7 separate regions of the Homo sapiens genome follow, and regions 2, 3, 4, 5, 6 and 7 are each linked to region 1. Evidence: promoter capture Hi-C in 16 types of primary human blood cells and fetal thymus (Javierre and others, 2016). All regions are on one chromosome and are shown on one strand. Each heading gives the region's core, a stretch centred on a gene start or on the middle of the fragment in contact. The rest is flanking DNA. Distances are from core to core; before and after follow the strand shown.

Region 1 (2,595 bases), core at 70-2,569:
TGCTGGGATTACAGGCGTAAGCCACAACTGTGCCTGGCCAGTAATGAAGCTTTGATACATGCTACAATATGGGTGCGTTTTAAAACATTATGCTAAGTGAAAGAAGTCAGTCACAAAAGACCACATAATGTATGCTTCCATTCACAGTGTATATGAAATGTCCAGATTAGGTAAATCCATGGAAATAGAAAGTAGAGTAGTGGTTGCCAGGGGTTGGGAGGAGGGAGGTGGGTAATAAAGAGTAACTGCTAATAGGTATGGGGTTTCTTTTCGGGGTGATGAAAATGGCCTAAAATTATGGTTAGGCTGGGCGCGGTGGCTCACGCCTGTAATCCCAGCTTTGGGAGGCCGAGGCGGGTGGACCACTTGAGGTCAGGAGTTCAAGACCGAGACCAGCCTGGCCAACATGGCGAAACCCCGTCTTTACTAAAAAAAAAAAAAAAAAAAAATACAAAAATTAGACGGGTGTGGTGGCGCACGACTGTGATCCCAGCTACTCGGGAGGCTGAGGCATGAGAATCACTTGAATCTGGAAGGCAGAGGTTGCAACGGGCCGAGATTGCACCACTGCATTCCAGCCTGGGTTACAAAGTGAGACTCTGTCAAAAAAAAAAAAAAAATTAGTGCTGATGGTTGGCACACTTTGAAAACATAAACAAAGCCGGAGGCAGTGGCTCACACCTGTGATCCCAGCATTTTGGGAGGTCAAACCAGGAGGATCCCTTGAGCTCAGGAGTCCAAGACCAGCTTGGGCAACACAGTGAGACGCTCGTCTCTGCAAAAACTTTGAGAAAATTAGCCGGGCGTGGTGGCAGGCACCTGTGGTCTCAGCTACTCGGGAGGCTGAGGCGAGAGGATCACTTAAGCCCAGGAAGTCCAGGCTGCAGTGAACTGTGAACTCCAGTCTGGGCGACAGAGCGAGACACCTCAGAAAAAAAAAAAAAAAAGAAAGAAAAAACCGAAAAAGACCACTAGAGGGTACATGTTTAAAGGACAGATTTTATGCTATGTGAATATATTTCAAGTAAAAATTAAATTAACAATTTTAAAAATTGCAGGAGTACGCAGCGCTTATAGAGGTCCCTGCATAACCTAGGGAGCGGGATCGAAACCCAGCAGCACCAAGATACTCTAAGAGCAGGACCAGCCACTGCCCCTTCCGCAGGACCGCCATCCTCGCCACGCCTCCGGGGGAGGGAGGTCCTGGCTTGGAGAGCGATGATTGGCCGAGTTCTAGGACGAGGCGGAGCGAAAGGGGGCGCGACAAGTCCCTCCCGGCGCAGCGAAACCTTAGCTCGCGAGATTTTGTTGGTTCCGCATTTCGGGTCTGCGAGGTGGGGTAGGCGGGCAAGGCGGGCGCCGAGGTTTGCAAAGGCTCGCAGCGGCCAGAAACCCGGCTCCGAGCGGCGGCGGCCCGGCTTCCGCTGCCCGTGAGCTAAGGACGGTCCGCTCCCTCTAGCCAGCTCCGAATCCTGATCCAGGCGGGGGCCAGGGGCCCCTCGCCTCCCCTCTGAGGACCGAAGATGAGCTTCCTCTTGTGAGTGGGGTCGGGCCGCGGGCGCCGGGCCTGCGGGCCGAGGTTGTGGGGGAGGCCTCCCCGGACCTGAGGCGAGGGCTCGGCCTGGGGGCCGAGGCGGGGGCGGGGTAGCTGGCGTTTGTTTTGCCTCTGTTCGGGTCCGCGGGGGAGGCCGAGATGTTGGGAGAGGCCGACAGAGATGAAGGTCGAAGTAAAGGAAACGGAGCGTGAAGGCTGGGGAGTAGAAAGGCCCCGGGGCCGTCGCGCCTCCAAACTTTTCCGCCCGAGCGCCCCCGAGGGCGGGGAGACGATCTGGGGGCGGAGCCGCGAGCCCCCAGTTTCTCTTGTCTCGAGCTTCTAGAAACCGTCCTTGCCGACTTAACTCGTTGCTCGGTTATAGGTCCAGTTTCATTATTGTCGGTGTTAAATGCCGCCCCAGGAGAATGTGCGTTGCCGCAGTTTGAGAAGCTTGAAGTTAAGATGCTGGCCTTGGAGTCGGATCGTTCTGTCCAGTTCTGATTCTGCCCACTTACTGGCTTTGATTTTAACCAACTTCTCTTGTCCTCGGTAGAATCCTGTGTTTTTAATCATTATGTAATATACCATACAGCATTATTATATAGTACATTGCAGTATTATAAATAATTTGGAAAGTTAAAACAAATTCATAGTCCCATTGCAGAAACACAGTATTGCCATTTTAGTGCACTACAGCAATTAACTTGATAGGCATACCTTAGAATCTCATTTTAGAGATAATGCCTGAGCCCAACCAAACAAGGCTAAAATGAAAAAGCTTGTAAATTCCCTGATGATTCTTATGCACATTAAGGTTTGAGAAGCATTGCTCTGGCACAGTATTTTTTATTCTCAGGTGTCTCTCTCTACCTTGTATATTGCTTAAATGTGTGTTTTGTGATTGAATAATTATCCAATTTTAGTTATGGATGTAATCCACATGCTTGACATTTTTATTAAATACAATATAAAAACACTATATAGTTTTTTTTTTATTTTTTATAACCAGAGTTTACCCACTTTATTGTGAGAAACTGGGATTCCTTCCAGTATTTACTATT
Region 2 (2,595 bases), core at 59-2,558, 450 kb after region 1:
TTATTAAGAAATGAGTTCTGATGTTAACTTTTAAATGAAATCTTTTGGTCTTTTCATTTTGTGTGCAGTAGAATCCTGCTTATCTGTGAAATGCAGTTAACACATCAGCTGGACCTATTTCCCGAATGCAGGGTAACCCTTCTGTTATTTAAAGATGTAAAAAATGCGGGAGACTTGAGAAGAAAGGCCATGGAAGGCACCATCGATGGATCACTGATAAATCCTACAGTGGTAAATATAAATTTTAAGAATGAATGAGCCTGCTGGGTGCGGTGGCTCACGCCTGTAATGCCAGCACTTTAGGAGGCCGAGGCGGGTGGATCATCTGAGGTCAGGAGTTGAAGACCAGCCTGGCCAACATGGTGAAACCCTGTCTCAACTAAAAATACAAAAATTAGCTGGGCGTGGTGGCGGGCGCCTATAATCCCAGCTACTCGGGAGGCTGAGGCAGGAAAATCATTTGAACCCTGGAGGCAGAGGTTGCAGTGAGCCAAGATTGCGCCATTGCACTCCAGCCTGGGCGACGAGCAAAACTCTGTCTGGAAAAAAAAAATGGCCAGGCATGGTAGCTCACGCCTGTAATCCCAGCCCTTTGGGAGGCCGAGGCAGGCAGATCATGAGGTCAGGAGTTTGAGACCAGCCTGGCCAATATGGTGAAACCCTGTCTCTACTAAAAATACAAAAATTAGCTGAGCATGGTGGTGGGCACCTGTACTCAGGAGACTGAGGCAGGAGAATCGCTTGAGCCTGGGAGGCAGAGGTTGCAGTGAGCCGAGATTGTGCCACTGCACTCCAGCCTGGGCAACAGACCAAGAATCCGCCTCAAAAAAAAAAAAAAAAAAAAAGAATGAATGAGCCATACAGGGCATTTAAGTATACATTAATATTTGTGATGTTATAGGGTAGCCTAAAAATCTGTCACGGTTAGGGAAAAAATTCTTGTCCAAGTCAGATGCAGCCAACTTTGACTATAACAGTGAATAGAGGCAGAAGTGCCAGGTCCTGCCCTAGGAAATAGGAAAGGTTGTGGTCTGGGTCTAATATGGGAAATGCCTGGATCTCCAGCTTCTCATCTTTAAAATGGGGGTTCCTAACAAGACAGTCTGTAGAGGAGGAATAGTGTAGTGGTTAAGAGTACACACAGAGGCCAAGGTGGGTGGATTGCTTGAGGCCCGGAGTTTGAGACCAGCCTGGCCTACATAGTGAAACCGTGTCTCTACTAAAAATACAAAAAGTAGCTGGGTGTGGTGGTGTGTGCTGGTAGTCCCAGCTACTCGGGAGGCTGAGGCACAAGAATCATTTGAACCTGGGAGGCGGAGGTTACAGTGAATTGAGATTGAGCCACTGCATTCCAGCCTGGGCAATGGAGCGAGAGACTCTGTCTGTCTCCAAAAAAAAAAAAAAACAAAAAAACAGGGCACACGCAGTGCGATCATGTTACCGGGAATTAATCCCAGACCTACTACTTAGGCCTTTGAACAAGACATAACCAACCTTTATATAGTGCTTACTGCATTCCTAGCATTGTTCCAAGTGCTTTACGTATACTAACTTGCTTAATCTTCACAACAGCCTATGGAGTGAATACTGTTTCATCGGTCTCTAACAAATAAAATGCTAATGAACTTGCATAAGTTTCCTAGGTGATAGGTGACAGAGATGGGATTCAAACCCAGACATTCTTTGCCTCAATTTCCTCATCAATTACATACTACTACTACTGCTACTACTACTAATAATAGTGTCAATTTCATAGGGTAGTTTTGAGGATTAAAGAAAATATTACAAGTAAAATGTTTGCAATATGATCATGCCCATAATATTAGCCCTCAATTAATGTTATTTAAAAAAATTTTACTATTTGCATAAGTTCCTTGCAGCTTTAAAATTCTGTGATTTCCTGACTACCCAGGCCCTTGGGATAATAGTTGTTTTTTGTTTTTTTTTTTTTTGAGACAGTTTCACTCTTGTTGCCCAGGCTGGAGTGCAATGGCGCGATCTTGGCTCACGGCAACCTCTGCCTCCCGGGTTCAAGCAATTGTCCTGCCTCAGCCTCCTGAGTTGCTGGGATTACAGGTGCGTGCCACCACGCCTGACTAATTTTTGTATTTTTAGTAGAGAGGGTTTCGCCGTGTTGGCCAGGCTGGTCTTGAACCCTGACGTCAGGTGATCTACCCACCTTGGCCTCCCAAAGTGCTAGGATTACAGGTGTGAGCCACCGTGCCCAGCCGGGATAATAGTTTTGAAAATACAGACCGTAAGAATTGTGATGAAGTAAAACAGCTTGACACTGGAGTTAACCATGAGTTACCATGTGTTTTCAGGCACTGCAGATTCTCCATGTGTAATTAATTCTTTTTCCTTGCTTTGGTAGATTGTTGATCCATTTCAGATACTTGTGGCAGCAAACAAAGCAGTTCACCTCTACAAACTGGGAAAAATGAAGACAAGAACTCTATCTACTGAAATTATTTTCAACCTTTCCCCAAATAACAATGTAATGTGCACTTTCCTATTTCTGTTGACCGTGTCATAATAACATATGTGTTCCTCAGTGTTGGGTTGGAGGCTAAATTCCTGCAAGCCAGTGGTTAG
Region 3 (2,595 bases), core at 30-2,529, 430 kb after region 1:
TCCGCCTCCCAGGTTCAAGCCATTCTCCTGCCTCAGCCTCCTGAGTAGCTGGGACTACAGGTGCCTGCCACCACGCCTGGCTAACTTTTTTGTATTTTTAGTAGAGATGGGGTTTACCATGTTAGCCAGGATGGTCTTGATCTCCTGACCTCGTGATCCGCCCGCCTCGGCCTCCCAAAGTGCTGGGATTACAGGCGTGAGCCACCACGCCCAGCCGAAACTGTAGTTGTCTTAATGGGACTTGCATGATGGTAAGATGTAGGGACCAGCCCCACAGGGTCAGTGGGTTTTTCTCCCCATGTGTGGAGACGAGAGATTGTAGAAATAAAGACACAAGACAAAGAGATAAAAGACAGCTGGGCCTGGGGGACCACTACCACCAAGATGCAGAGACCAGTAGTAGCCCCGAATGCCTGGCTGCACTGTTATTTATTGGATACAAGGCAAAAGGGGCAGGGTAAAGAGTGTGAGTCATCTCTAGTGATTGATAAGGTCACGTGAGTCACGTGTCCACTGGACAGGGGGCCCTTCCCTGCCTGGCAGCCGAGGCAGAGAGAGGGAGAGCGAGAGAGAGACAGCTTACGCCATTATTTCTGCATATCAGAGACTTTTAGTACTTTCATTAATTTTGCTACTGTTATCTAAAAGGCAGAGCCAGGTGTACAGGATGGAACTTGAAAGCAGACTAGGAGCGTGACCACTGAAGCACAGCATCACAGGGAGACAGGGTCAGGCCTCCGGATAACTGCGGGCGGGCCTGACTGATGTCAGGCCCTCCATAAGAGGTGGAGGAGTAGAATCTCCTCTAAACTCCCCCAGGGAAAGGGAGACTCCCTTTCCCGGTCTGCTAAGTAGCGGGTGTTTTTCCTTGACACTGATGCTACTGCTAGACCACGGTCTGCTTGGCAATGGGCGTCTTCCCAGACGCTGGCATTACCACTAGACCAAGGAGCCCTCTGGTGGCCCTGTCCGGGCATAACAGAAGGCTTGCACTCTTGTCTTCTGATCACTTCTCACTCACTATGTCCCTTCGGTTCCTATCTCTGTATGGCCTGGTTTTTCCTAGGTTATGATTATAGAGCGAGGATTATTACAGTATTGGAATAAAGAGTAATTGCTACAAACTAATGATTAATGATATTCATATATAATCATGTCTATGATTTAGATCTAGTATAACTCTTGTTGTTTTATATATTTTATTATACTGGAACAACTTGTGCCCTCGGTCTCTTGCCTCAGCACCTGGGTGGCTTGCTGCCCACCGTAGAACAGGAATGTTAAAGGGAGAATTACAGGACCAAATCAGTCCTTGTGCCAAAAAAGCCTTCCAAGAGTGGTTGAATACCCTTTCATGCCACTTCCTTTAATGGGTATTCTGTGTCTCTCTTTTAATTTTTATGGGTTTGGCTGTGACCACTCTCCCTGGCTTCCCTTGGGCCCAAACATCTCTCCTTACCTGTGTGAGAATTTCTTCTGGAATGTCCTGAACCTCTTCGTTTTCTGGTTGCAGCAGGAGTATTTGAAACCTGCAAACTTGTTCAGAAGGAATCATTATATCTAGGCATCTGGGGGGAAAGACAAGTTGAGCATACAATTTGGCAAGCAAATCCCAGCCCAGGAGGGGCACTGGGCATTAAGCATGTACAAGAAACTATGCCCTAGGCCGGTCTCTCGTAAATGGTAACCTGAAGATTGTAGAAAGGGATAATGGTGTCTCCCAATATCCGTGTAACAGTAATGGTTTTTCCCAAAGCTGGAGAGAGACAATTGTTAATTAATTAATATGTGGCACTGTGTCAAGTAAAAAGTCAATCATTCTGTTCCCCACTGTCAGTTGTATCTAGGAATCCTGTGGGGATATAGCCACTGGTTGCTCCAAGTCTAAGGGAGTCCCTGGGACACATCAGTCTTCATCTAAATATTATTCTCTCTCCTCATCTGATTTTGAGGGACACTGCACTTGCTAGCTGCTTTGGTCAATTTGGGACAGCCCTTTTTCCAGTGTCCCTCCTTCTTACAATAGGCATATTGGTTTTTTTTCTGAAGGGGGCGTGAGCCGCTCTTTGATTTCTTCCTTTTCCCCTAGGTTGGTAGTCAAGCACAGCTGCCAGTGAGTTACTTGTTGCTTCAATTTGCACTTTCCTGAGCCTCATCCTGAGCATAGTACACTTTAAAAGCTAAGTCCACTAAATGTGAGATTGGCAACCCAAGGATCCCATTTACCTTTTGCAGTTTTCTTTGAATATCAGGGCACTGTGGCTGATAAAGGTCACATTGACCATTCTCTGATTGTCCGGTGCCTCAGGGTTAGTTAGCGTCAACCTACTTTCCACATGTCTGATGGAGTCTTTCTGGGAATTACAAAGGGTCCTCATATGCTTGCCGCTGTACTTCCTGTACCTTATTGAGGCTCTTAACCTGAGTAACCCCTTTCCTCAAACCTTCAAGGATGTGGTTCTCATAGTGTCCTAAGTGGGAAAGGCCCCACCATTTACATCGCACCTGGTCTCTGTGTTAGGGACTGAGTCTATTGGCCAGGGGTGATTGTTTCCTGCCTCCAGATGGAGCCGATTTGCTTCTTCCCTAGCCTTT
Region 4 (2,595 bases), core at 27-2,526, 380 kb before region 1:
CAAAGGTCAGAGCTTCCCACTTTCTGTCCTGCCCCACCCCTCCCACAGCTGCCCAACCCAGGAAGCCCTCCCGGACAGCCCCTGCACCTTGTCCCGGCCATAGCGACGCAACAGAGTGTAGGGCCAGGACAGGAGTGGCTCCAGTATCTGACTCTGGGCCCCCACGGTCAGGAGAGTCAGCCTTTCAGCCTCCACCCTCAGCACGTAGGAGCCATGCAGGCCACAGCGCTCGGCGGCCTCAGTCCTCTGCACCGTTACCCAGAATTGGGATCCTGGAAGGCATACACGATTAGACAGCTGCGGGGGAGGGACGGGGGCAGCAGTGGGGACCCAGAGGACTCATGAGCATAGTGTCCAAGCACTCACTCGGAAGCCAGATCTCAGGGCCTTCCTACTTCTTACTTCCCCATGGGCCCCTGGGTATCCACCCACTTCCCAAAGGCCCTCGGCCCTCCTCCTCTTCACTCCATCCCTGCCCGGGCTTCTGAGGCGTCTACCTTCCCAGGTAGGGCTGTACAAGGAGTTCTCCAGCATCTCCAGGGCAGAAAGCTTAGGTGGGTTATCGGTAGGCGCCAGAGTCCAGCTGCCTTTCTGTAGTAGAGAGCATCGAGAAACCCGTAATTTCCTCAGCGGGGAGCGGGGGTCGGTCTGAGGCAGCCCCATTTCTCTGCCTCTGTAACTGCCCCCACCCCGCATCGCCGCAGCTCCTCACCGGAAAGGCGTTTCGGCACAGCGTCTGCACCCAGGCTGCACTGGACGGCGCGTCGGCCGCCAGCAGGTGCGAGCGCTGAGCAGTGTCCAGGCGGAAGGCAGTGGCGCCGGGCTCAGGGGGGGTCTCCACGGTGACGGGGGCCACACTCACACACTCAGCCAGACGGATCACTTTGCAGTCCAGGCGGCGCGAGCTCCCTCGGCCACCCCCAGAGCTCGACCCCTTATGGTCAAAGAACTCGAGCCGCGCTACGCCGTGGGGACTGGCCGGGTAGAGCACGGCCCAGGTCTTCCTCCACCTCTAGGGAGAGAGAGAGAGTGCTCGAGAGGGAGTGGCGTGCGCAGGCGGCCCGGGTCCCGACGGGGAAGGAGGTTGCGGCGCAAGTCGATTTGGGATCTGGGGCTTCCAAACGGGGTTGGGGGCGAAGTTTCCCAAGGACGATGCCACTCCGTCTCCCCAGGACCAGAACCCCTAGACTACAGACGCTTCCCGGGAGTGTGCAAAGCAACTTCACGGGAAAGTCACAGGCTCTCCAACTCCCGGCGCCGCTCTCCAGCCCGCTGCCCACCTCTCCCTGTTTCTGGGCTCTCTCACCCACTACTAGCCCGGATAAGGTTCGGCATCCATGCGCCAGACTACCTTGGTCCCAAAGCGCTGACTCTGCAAAAAAAGCGGCCCTTCCATCACTGCTCCGTCCATGGCCCCCGGCGGTTCCTTCCGCGCTTCCTGGCCCTGCGGCGGGAGGCGGGGCGGGAGGCGGGGCCGGGTTCCCTGGAGGAGTTTCCGCCCCTCCCCGGCCCCCGCCGGCAGCCGCTGGGGGGGTCGCGGTGGGGTGAGGGAGAGGAGCGAGAAGGAATGGTGGAGACCCCCGGATTAGCCGGGAGCTGCAGCACCCCAGGCCCCTACCCGCCGTCGTGGGGGCGCGCCAGTGGCTCCACCGAAAGTCCTCGGTTTTGGCGCGAGGGCCCTGGCCTCTGGGCGTGGTGGCTGCGCGTGACGTCATATGCCCAAGGTGACGTCAGAGTGAAAGCCATGACATCACCCCGAAAGCGCCCCGGGCACCGGAGAGACCCACACGGGCCTCCGGGGCTTTATTTACCCTGGCCGGGCCCGCCCCCAGCCCCGCCCGAGCCGGGCTGTTTAGACTCCGCTGGCCCGGGACTCGGAGGGAGGGCTGGGGTTGAACCGCTTCCCGCCACCACCGGGGCCGCCCCGCCGCCCGGCCGCCGCTTGCATGTCAGCTCCCTGACCGCAGAGGCCTGGCCTCCATGCCGCGGGAAGAGAAAGCTTCATTGAACGAGCCGGGAGGGCCAGGGAGGGGGAGGGGGCGCGGCAGTGGCCAGCTCCACGGGGAGGGAGGACCCAGAGGAGGAGAGGAGGGAACTGGCCGGGAGGAATGGAAGGAGAAGGCGGAATGTGGGAGGGCTCAGGGGGATGTGGGAGGGACGAACGGAGAAGGGGGAGAGAGGGGGGTCCAGTCTCCCCTGGCCGAGCATTTTTTTTTTTTTTTGGAAGTCCTAGGACTGATCTCCAGGACCAGCACTCTTCTCCCAGCCCTTAGGGTCCTGCTCGGCCAAGGTAGGGGGAGTCACGCTAACCGCAGAGGGAATGAGTAGGGGATGGAGAGGATGTGGAGGGACCAGGGAAAACGGGTGGTGTGGGATGGAGTCGAGGGGAAGCCACCCAACTGAGAGTTTGATTCTTGTCAAAGGGCAAGTGAGACAGAGTACACGGAGGAGGCACATACCGGAGGCGGGGGCTACGGGTGTTCGAACAGGGCCGCCAGGAGCGCCCTAAGGGAGGGGGCTCCTCCGGGAGGCGCTGCCCCTGGGTCCCCAACCCAGAACAAAGCTGCCTTGTTGGATTGATTGTTTGGGTTGGGG
Region 5 (2,595 bases), core at 68-2,567, 360 kb before region 1:
GGGCAGAGGGCTGAGGAATGAGTCCCTTGGCCCAAGATGCTGGATCCTGGGCCTTACAGAAACATCTGCATATGTCCCCAGGAGACCTGGTACTGGGACTCTGGGAATATAACAGAGGTGGTGATGAGTGGAGTGCGCTGCACAGGGACTGAGCTGTCCCTGGATCAGTGTGCCCATCATGGCACCCACATCACCTGCAAGAGGACAGGGACCCGCTTCACTGCTGGAGTCATCTGTTCTGAGAGTGAGTGAAGGAGGGGGTGATGCATGCCAGGGAAGGGAGTGTCTGGGCCACCCGTTTGCAGGGAAAGGGGGCTGTAATCTGGAGGGGCACTTCTTCCCCATAAAAGAGCCAGTTTCGCCGGGTGCAGTGGCTCACGCCTGTAATCCCAGCACTTTAGGAGGCCAAGGCGGATGGATCACGAGGTCAGGAATTCAAGACCAGCCTGACCAAGATGGTGAAACCCTGTCTCTACTAAAACTACAAAAATTAGCCAGGCGCAGTGGCAGGCGCCTATAATCCCAGCTACTCGGGAGGCTGAGGCAGGAGAATCACTTGAACCCAGGTGGCAGAGGTTGCAGTGAGCCAAGATCACGCCGCTGCATTCCAGCCTCGGCAACAGAGTGAGACTCCATCTCAAACAAACAAACAAACAAAAACAAAAACAAAAAACTAGTCTTACACACTAGGGAGGGATGGAAGCACCCCTCTCTGTGAAGTCAGCAGTGACTTCTAACACCCCCTTCCTTTCTTGGTGCAGCTGCATCAGATCTGTTGCTGCACTCAGCACTGGTGCAGGAGACCGCCTACATCGAAGACCGGCCCCTGCATATGTTGTACTGTGCTGCGGAAGAGAACTGCCTGGCCAGCTCAGCCCGCTCAGCCAACTGGCCCTATGGTCACCGGCGTCTGCTCCGATTCTCCTCCCAGATCCACAACCTGGGACGAGCTGACTTCAGGCCCAAGGCTGGGCGCCACTCCTGGGTGTGGCACGAGTGCCATGGGTGAGAGGGTAGGGAGTCAAGTAGAAGGGCAAGACCACGGGGGATGGGGCAAACCTTCTGGGGGCAGAGAAGGAAACAGAAGTTCCCTTCTCCCCACAGGCATTACCACAGCATGGACATCTTCACTCACTATGATATCCTCACCCCAAATGGCACCAAGGTGGCTGAGGGCCACAAAGCTAGTTTCTGTCTCGAAGACACTGAGTGTCAGGAGGGTGAGTTGGGGACTGAAGTGAACCACATGGTATCCATTGCACAGCCTTTCCTTACACTGACATATGCCAATCCCTCCAGATGTCTCCAAGCGGTATGAGTGTGCCAACTTTGGAGAGCAAGGCATCACTGTGGGTTGCTGGGATCTCTACCGGCATGACATTGACTGTCAGTGGATTGACATCACGGATGTGAAGCCAGGAAACTACATTCTCCAGGTACCTGGAGTCTGGGGCTTCCAGATGGGTGAGTGGGGGGAGCGTTAAAGACACCTTTGAATTCGAGGATTGTCGCTGGGTTAAGTGGCCTTTTTCTCACTCACAGGTTGTCATCAACCCAAACTTTGAAGTAGCAGAGAGTGACTTTACCAACAATGCAATGAAATGTAACTGCAAATATGATGGACATAGAATCTGGGTGCACAACTGCCACATTGGTATTTGATGGGAAGAGCAACCCAGGAAGATTAGGGGATGGGAGGGAAAGACGTTCATTCTCTTTTCCATAGCTTGTTTCTCCATCTTCCCACCTTCCTGTAGAGCTCTCAGTCCCTCCACTTCTACCCACCCTTCTCCACAGTGCATCTATCTCCCTCCCTCTGTGCAGGGCGCCTCCCAAATTGCCTGTCCACTCTGCAGGTGATGCCTTCAGTGAAGAGGCCAACAGGAGGTTTGAACGCTACCCTGGCCAGACCAGCAACCAGATTATCTAAGTGCCACTGCCCTCTGCAAACCACCACTGGCCCCTAATGGCAGGGGTCTGAGGCTGCCATTACCTCAGGAGCTTACCAAGAAACCCATGTCAGCAACCGCACTCATCAGACCATGCACTATGGATGTGGAACTGTCAAGCAGAAGTTTTCACCCTCCTTCAGAGGCCAGCTGTCAGTATCTGTAGCCAAGCATGGGAATCTTTGCTCCCAGGCCCAGCACCGAGCAGAACAGACCAGAGCCCACCACACCACAAAGAGCAGCACCTGACTAACTGCCCACAAAAGATGGCAGCAGCTCATTTTCTTTAATAGGAGGTCAGGATGGTCAGCTCCAGTATCTCCCCTAAGTTTAGGGGGATACAGCTTTACCTCTAGCCTTTTGGTGGGGGAAAAGATCCAGCCCTCCCACCTCATTTTTTACTATAATATGTTGCTAGGTATAATTTTATTTTATATAAAAAGTGTTTCTGTGATTCTTCAGAGCCCAGGAGTCAGTGCTGGTGGTTGGAGGGACCTGCCCCCACTGGTTCATTTAACCCTCTGTCTCGGTGCCCTCAGAACCTCAGCCAGAAAGGCAAGGAGGAAATCAGAGCAGGAGCCTCATACTCTTGGTGATCTATTCATTCTGTGACCTCAGGGGTCACATATAAGGTCAGTGTTTCTCG
Region 6 (2,595 bases), core at 69-2,568, 330 kb after region 1:
GTAGTCCCCCAAAAAAGGCATGAACAAAGCAGCTCATAAAAAATGCCAAGAATGGACCCAGTTTCTGAACACCATGGAGAAACTCTGTGAGACAGCCAGCAAGCTAAAGTTAGGAAGTGTCTCTCACAGCTATATTTTCATATTTAAAAAAAAAAAGTGGGAGGGGAAAGATGTTCTGCTTTTGCGTATTCAACAGCAAGATCTGAATTGCTAGAGAGGTAACAAAGTCAGAGCAGGGGACACAGAGTCACACAGCAGTCTGATGATGTTATCTGAGGATTATGAATTCGGTTTGGCACATTCTTTTCCTTTCACTAAAAAGTTGACAGTCTGACTTTCAAGAATAATATTAGCTCTTCAGAAAATCGACCAGACTAGGTTTCAGCAAAGGCCACTTTTATAACATAGCCAGTGTATTAGGACACAGTACAGCAATACTTATCAGATGGGTTTCTGTGACCAAAGCTTAATGAGTGGGATCAGGGAGGTAATCTTAGGTTGACCCCGTCAGAATGATACTGTTTGGCTGCAACTGAGAAGGAAGAGGACATCAGCAAATGCACTTACTACTTTCTGAGTTGCTCAGTGCTCCAGGTTTCAAGGACCTGTCCACCACAGGTGGCTTAGCTGGCCTTACAGTTGTGTGACAGTCTGAAGGCTGTATGGATGAGACTGTTAAGGTGGGGAACACATCTAAGGAGGGCTTCTCCAAGTCAGGCACTAGCGGGCCACCTAGGCCAGGGTCTACCTTCCCAAACTCCTGTACAATTTTCAGTCGCTCTTTTTCTAGCTCCTGGTTCCGGATCATCTCCTCGAAGGCATGGAACTGTTCCTGTTCCAATTGCTGCTGCTTCTGTTGTGCTACCCTCTGTTTTTCCTTTTCCAGCTCTTGCTGGATGGCCATGTTCCGGGCCAATTCCTCTGCTTCCTTCTTCTACAAAGAGAGAAAATTTAGGCTAACACTTCACACCTCAGTGACTTCACACTTCAGGAGAACAAGGCTTTTTAGCATGGAGATTTCCAAAATGTACTTCTGCTGTGGCCTGATTACCTAACACAGAATTCATGCTTTCCTCAGTATCTTTATACCCACGGAGTGTAGTCACCACCCCTTTCTATCTGGCCACAGTATACCTATCTCCAAGGACAATTAAAATCCCAATCCTCTCAATACCCTCCCGACAATGACTCTACCTAATGCACTTTCCTCTTCACTGAAATCTTTTTTTTTTTTTTTTTGAGACAGGGTCTCATTCTGTTTCCCAGGCTGAAGTGCAATGGCATGATCACAGCTCACTGCAGCCTTGACCTCCCAGGCTCAAGCAATCCTCCCACCTTAGCCTCCTGAGTAGGTGGGACCACAGGTGTGCACCACCACACCTGGCTAATTTTTGTATTTTTTGTAGAGACAGGGTTTCGCCATGTTGCCCAGGCTAGTCTTGAACTCCTGGGCTCAAACAATCTGCCCACCTCGGCCTCCCGAAGCGCTGGGATTCCAGGTGTGAGCCACAATGTCTGGCCTGAAATCTTGATGCAACTTACTATCTGTGTTCTCCTAACCTGTATCACAGACAGTTTTATTCTTCTCTCTGTGTCATGTACATATTCTATATTTCAAGTAAGGCTATAAAATAGAACCAGATCCAAACTTATACCTGCTATCTTGGGGGTCTCTACTGAATTTTTTTTTTTTTTCTTAGAGAGTCTCACTCTGTCACCTAGGCTGGACTGTAGTGGTCAATCATGGCTCACTGCAGCCTCAATCTCCCTGGGCGCAGGTGATCCTCCCATCTCAGCCTCCCGAGTAGCTGAAACCAGAGGTGCGTGCCACCACACTAATTTTTGTATTTTTTGTAGAGACCCAGCTAATTTTTGTATTTTTTGTAGAGATGGGGTTTCACCATGTTGCCCAGGCTGGTCTCGAACTCCTGGGCTCAAGCGATCACCCACTTCAGGCTCCCAAAGTGCTAGGATTACAGGCATGAGCCACCACGTCTTGCCTTCTACTGAATTTTAACCCAAAATGAGGCCTCTGAAATTTTTATGGTTTTTGTGCATTTGTTCAACACAGAGTGACATTTTAAGCTAATAAGAAATACTTGAGAGGCATTTGGATTAAAAAAAAAAAGAAAGAAAGAAATGCTAAGTAATAACCTCCTCCTTAAAGCTTACACTCACTTGGTGCTTTAGAAGTATATACCTCATAGCTGTTCATCCCTCTGCTGATTTTCAACATCAGAGTCCAGAATAGAGACCAGCAGACAGCTACACAACAGCCTGTGAGTGGCTGCAGTATGTATTCACAGCTGGCCACTGACAGCGCCCTGGCAGTTTCTCCACATGTTTTAACTGACTTCCTAAAAAGAATCATTTGAAAATAGCTTGAAATGGCTGGGTGCAGCGGCTCACGCCTGTAATCCCAGCACTTTGGAAGGCCGAGGCAGGCGGATCACTTGAGGTCAGGAGTTTGAGACCATCTTGGCCAACATGGTGAAACCCCATCTCTACTAAAAATACAAAAATTAGCCGGGTATGGTGGCGGATGCCTGTAGTCCCAGTCACTCGGGAGGCTGAGGTAGGAGAATCACTTGAGTC
Region 7 (2,595 bases), core at 68-2,567, 320 kb after region 1:
AGTGCCTCTGCAGTGGCTAGGCTGCAGCAGATATGAAGAGGGATCTACAGACTGATTTCCTGCACCCATCTAGCCACTAAGATATCTTGTGCCTAGAGGAAGAGAAAAGAAAATATAGCAGTTTGGTGATCAGTCTGTGATCAATGTGGTTGCAACGTATGATATGTTGTTGACCTGGCTGAATGTCTTTGGTGGGCAGAGACGGATAAGAGAGCTCACAATTCTTAGGTATCAAAGACCAATGCAGTGGTTGTCAACCCTGGTTGTACTTGAGAATTCTAGCAGCTTGAAAGACAAATGCAGAAACAACATCTGAGGCTCCACCCTAGAGATTCAGCTTTAATTGGTGGGGGGTAGAACACAGGCATCAGTATTTTTTAAATTGCTCCCTAGATATTTGAATATATAGCCAGGGGTAAGAACTTTAAGTGGAAAGTTCTGACTAAAAGCTAAATTTAGATTTTCAGCAATGGGAAGCTATTGCAGGTTTTTGAGCAAGAGAGAAAACATGAACATGGCTGGAATGTGAGAAGCTTCTCCTGATCAAAGTGTGCAGAACAGACTGGAATGAAGAAATGCTAAAAACAAAGAGACTTGGTAAAAGCCAACGGCTACAGTCGAAATAAAAGGTAAGAAAGCCCTAAGCTAAGTGGTAGACAAAGAATGGGAAGAAGGGGATGGATTTCCCAAAAGCAGAGGACTGGGCAATTTCAGGACTGTTTAGAGCAAGGTGGAACAGCCAGGCTGCTCTGGGCTGCAGCAGGAAATGGCTTGTCCAAGCCCAGCTGGCCCCCAGACCCACCCATACCAAAACAGCAAAGAAGGAATTTCCACTATATGGGGAATTAAGAACCCAAGAGAAGAAAAAGAATATAGAGAACTGGGCTCTTTCAGGGGACAAGTTCAAGGACCACTAACCTAAGCAATAAAGACTGAGACAAAATTTAAAAATGAAGAAAACTTTATGCATTCACAGATTCTCCCTCCCCCACCTAGAATTCTGATAAAGAATAAATCACTCTTCTCCTAGCCAAAGTATTTACTCTCCTGCCCTCACTCGAGGTGTCACAAATGACACCATTATTTCTAGGCCACCTAGAACACCAGGCTCAGCTCACAGAAAATTGCAGTAACAATTGCTGCTTCAAGCGTTTTCCTAGGTATTGCCTTAGTCAGAAAAGAACAGCCAACACAATGAAATTGGTAGGGTGGGGTGGCTGGGAAATGTAATCATTTATTGGAGTGTAACCTGGTACTCCAAACAAAGGCTTCATTATCCTCAGCCAAAAGCATGGAGGGCATAAGGAGGAAGTGAATGGTTGACCCATTTGAGACAGCACCAAAAGAACAGAGATGACTTCACAACACCTCTGGAAGATGGCAACAGGCAGATAAAAAACAAGGAGTAATTAAAAGTGAACTGGGACACACCATCAGTGTCAGTATATCTCAAATTCCATTTTTCCTTCACCTTTCCAAAACAACCATACCTTTTTTTTAACCTGTTTATACAATGCTTGATCAAATGGATCACTCTGAAGCACAAAAACATAAGTTAATTGTTACTTTATTGTAGAGGAAAAATATCCTGAAATATTTATTAAATAACAATAATTCCTGACAAAATCATTCTTCGGGATGTGTTAGCCAAACAATCTGGTCAAATGGAGTAAGCTGTCCCTCACCCCAGTAATAAGCTCCATTCATATTGCCATAAACCACAGGAAAATCCAAAAGATTTTCTAAATGGCTTCCAAATTTCTGCACAGATGCCCTTATTGAGCCCAGAGGTAAATATAAACAAATTGAAATTAGAGAGAAATTAGAAGGATAGCTGAGAGGAAAAAAATGTTAACAATTGGTGAATCCAGAAGGAAGGGTATATGGGGGTTCATTATACCATTCTTTCTTAATTTCTGAGCTACTTAATTTCTGAGTAACTTAATTTCTGAGTTACAGTTGCTTTTGGGTGACCATGTTCTCTTTCTGACTTGCCTAAAAAATATGTTCAGTTATTTCTTTTCAAACCTGAAATACAAAATCAGCTCTTTCTCAGGTGATGCCCCCCTTTCTACTATCTACAAAAACTTCCAAAGCTTTCTAGAAAGCTTAAATTAAGGGGCTACAGTACACTGATATGGTTTTGTTGTTCTTGGAAGGTGTTGGACTCAAACGCTCATCGAAGGTCTGTGATGGTCACTGCTCTGTCCACAACAGTCACGTGGCTGCAGCTCTGCAATAGGAAAAAAGAAAGGTGGAGTCCTAGAAAATTCTGAAAAGTCTTTTTTTTTTTTTTCTTCATATAGGGTCTTGCTCTGTTGCCCAGGCTGGAGTGCAGTGGCACGATCTCGGCTCACTGCAACCCCCGCCTCCTGGGTTCAAGCGATTCTTCTGCCTTAGCTTTCCCAGTAGCTGGGATTACAGGCACGAGCCACCATGCCTGGCTAATTTTGTGTTTTTAGTAGAGGTGGGGTTTCGCCATGTTGGTCAGCCTGGACTTGAACTCCTGACCTCAAGTAATCTGCCTGCCTCAGTCTCCCAAAGTATTGGGATTATAGGCGTGAGCCACCGTGCCCGGCCTGAAAAGTCATTTTA

What was found. The method cuts DNA at HindIII sites, captures the fragments that hold promoters and counts their contacts. A CHiCAGO score of 5 or more calls a contact.
Region 2: a fragment that was not itself captured here is called in contact with the fragment with the promoter of MOB1A in region 1 in 5 of 17 cell types (fetal thymus, non-activated CD4 T cells, total CD8 T cells and 2 more); the score reaches 9.8 in fetal thymus.
Region 3: a fragment that was not itself captured here is called in contact with the fragment with the promoter of MOB1A in region 1 in 1 of 17 cell types (activated CD4 T cells); the score reaches 5.2 in activated CD4 T cells.
Region 4: a fragment that was not itself captured here is called in contact with the fragment with the promoter of MOB1A in region 1 in 1 of 17 cell types (fetal thymus); the score reaches 6.9 in fetal thymus.
Region 5: a contact is called between a fragment that was not itself captured here and the fragment with the promoter of MOB1A in region 1, in 4 of 17 cell types (activated CD4 T cells, fetal thymus, total CD8 T cells and 1 more). The highest score is 5.9, in activated CD4 T cells.
Region 6: a fragment that was not itself captured here is called in contact with the fragment with the promoter of MOB1A in region 1 in 11 of 17 cell types (activated CD4 T cells, non-activated CD4 T cells, total CD4 T cells and 8 more); the score reaches 11.1 in activated CD4 T cells.
Region 7: a fragment that was not itself captured here is called in contact with the fragment with the promoter of MOB1A in region 1 in 4 of 17 cell types (activated CD4 T cells, non-activated CD4 T cells, total CD8 T cells and 1 more); the score reaches 9.8 in activated CD4 T cells.

What each region holds. Positions count from the first base shown.
Region 1 is chr2:74,177,603-74,180,197 of GRCh38, reverse strand. It overlaps MOB1A (MOB kinase activator 1A), which reads left to right and starts at 1,319. Exons shown (of 6, transcript NM_018221.5): 1 at 1,319-1,537. The coding sequence starts at 1,524. RefSeq lists a silencer at 1,558-1,747 and an enhancer at 1,611-2,294. The HindIII fragment of the contact is 1,935 bases long and covers 52-1,986 here.
Region 2 is chr2:73,732,065-73,734,659 of GRCh38, reverse strand. TPRKB (TP53RK binding protein) reads left to right here. Exons shown (of 5, transcript NM_016058.5): 2 at 69-231; 3 at 2,375-2,497. The coding sequence starts at 91. Among named protein-coding and RNA genes, the nearest start is that of TPRKB, 4.0 kb to the left of the region's middle. The HindIII fragment of the contact is 4,504 bases long and covers 1-2,595 here.
Region 3 is chr2:73,752,421-73,755,015 of GRCh38, reverse strand. No RefSeq gene overlaps it. Among named protein-coding and RNA genes, the nearest start is that of TPRKB, 16 kb to the right of the region's middle. RefSeq lists a silencer at 835-1,018. The HindIII fragment of the contact is 4,937 bases long and covers 1-2,595 here.
Region 4 is chr2:74,553,571-74,556,165 of GRCh38, reverse strand. It overlaps LOXL3 (lysyl oxidase like 3), which reads left to right and starts at 2,224. Exons shown (of 14, transcript NM_032603.5): 1 at 2,224-2,290. DOK1 (docking protein 1) reads right to left here and starts at 1,446. Exons shown (of 5, transcript NM_001381.5): 1 at 1,352-1,446; 2 at 713-1,012; 3 at 498-591; 4 at 88-272. The coding sequence starts at 1,411. RefSeq lists enhancers at 1,145-1,204, 829-1,346 and a silencer at 1,355-2,104. The HindIII fragment of the contact is 1,450 bases long and covers 552-2,001 here.
Region 5 is chr2:74,532,941-74,535,535 of GRCh38, reverse strand. HTRA2 (HtrA serine peptidase 2) reads right to left here. Exons shown (of 8, transcript NM_013247.5): 8 at 2,217-2,595. The coding sequence ends at 2,551. It overlaps LOXL3 (lysyl oxidase like 3), which reads left to right. Exons shown (of 14, transcript NM_032603.5): 9 at 82-244; 10 at 762-1,005; 11 at 1,105-1,220; 12 at 1,300-1,436; 13 at 1,543-1,654; 14 at 1,857-2,595. The coding sequence ends at 1,930. Among named protein-coding and RNA genes, the nearest start is that of HTRA2, 4.3 kb to the right of the region's middle. The HindIII fragment of the contact is 3,138 bases long and covers 1-2,595 here.
Region 6 is chr2:73,845,726-73,848,320 of GRCh38, reverse strand. STAMBP (STAM binding protein) reads right to left here. Exons shown (of 10, transcript NM_213622.4): 5 at 568-934. The region is part of intron 1 of LOC112268419 (a long non-coding RNA gene); the gene reads left to right. Among named protein-coding and RNA genes, the nearest start is that of STAMBP, 18 kb to the right of the region's middle. The HindIII fragment of the contact is 1,702 bases long and covers 468-2,169 here.
Region 7 is chr2:73,861,841-73,864,435 of GRCh38, reverse strand. It overlaps STAMBP (STAM binding protein), which reads right to left. Exons shown (of 10, transcript NM_213622.4): 10 at 1-2,233. The coding sequence ends at 2,177. Among named protein-coding and RNA genes, the nearest start is that of ACTG2, 30 kb to the left of the region's middle. The HindIII fragment of the contact is 1,563 bases long and covers 536-2,098 here.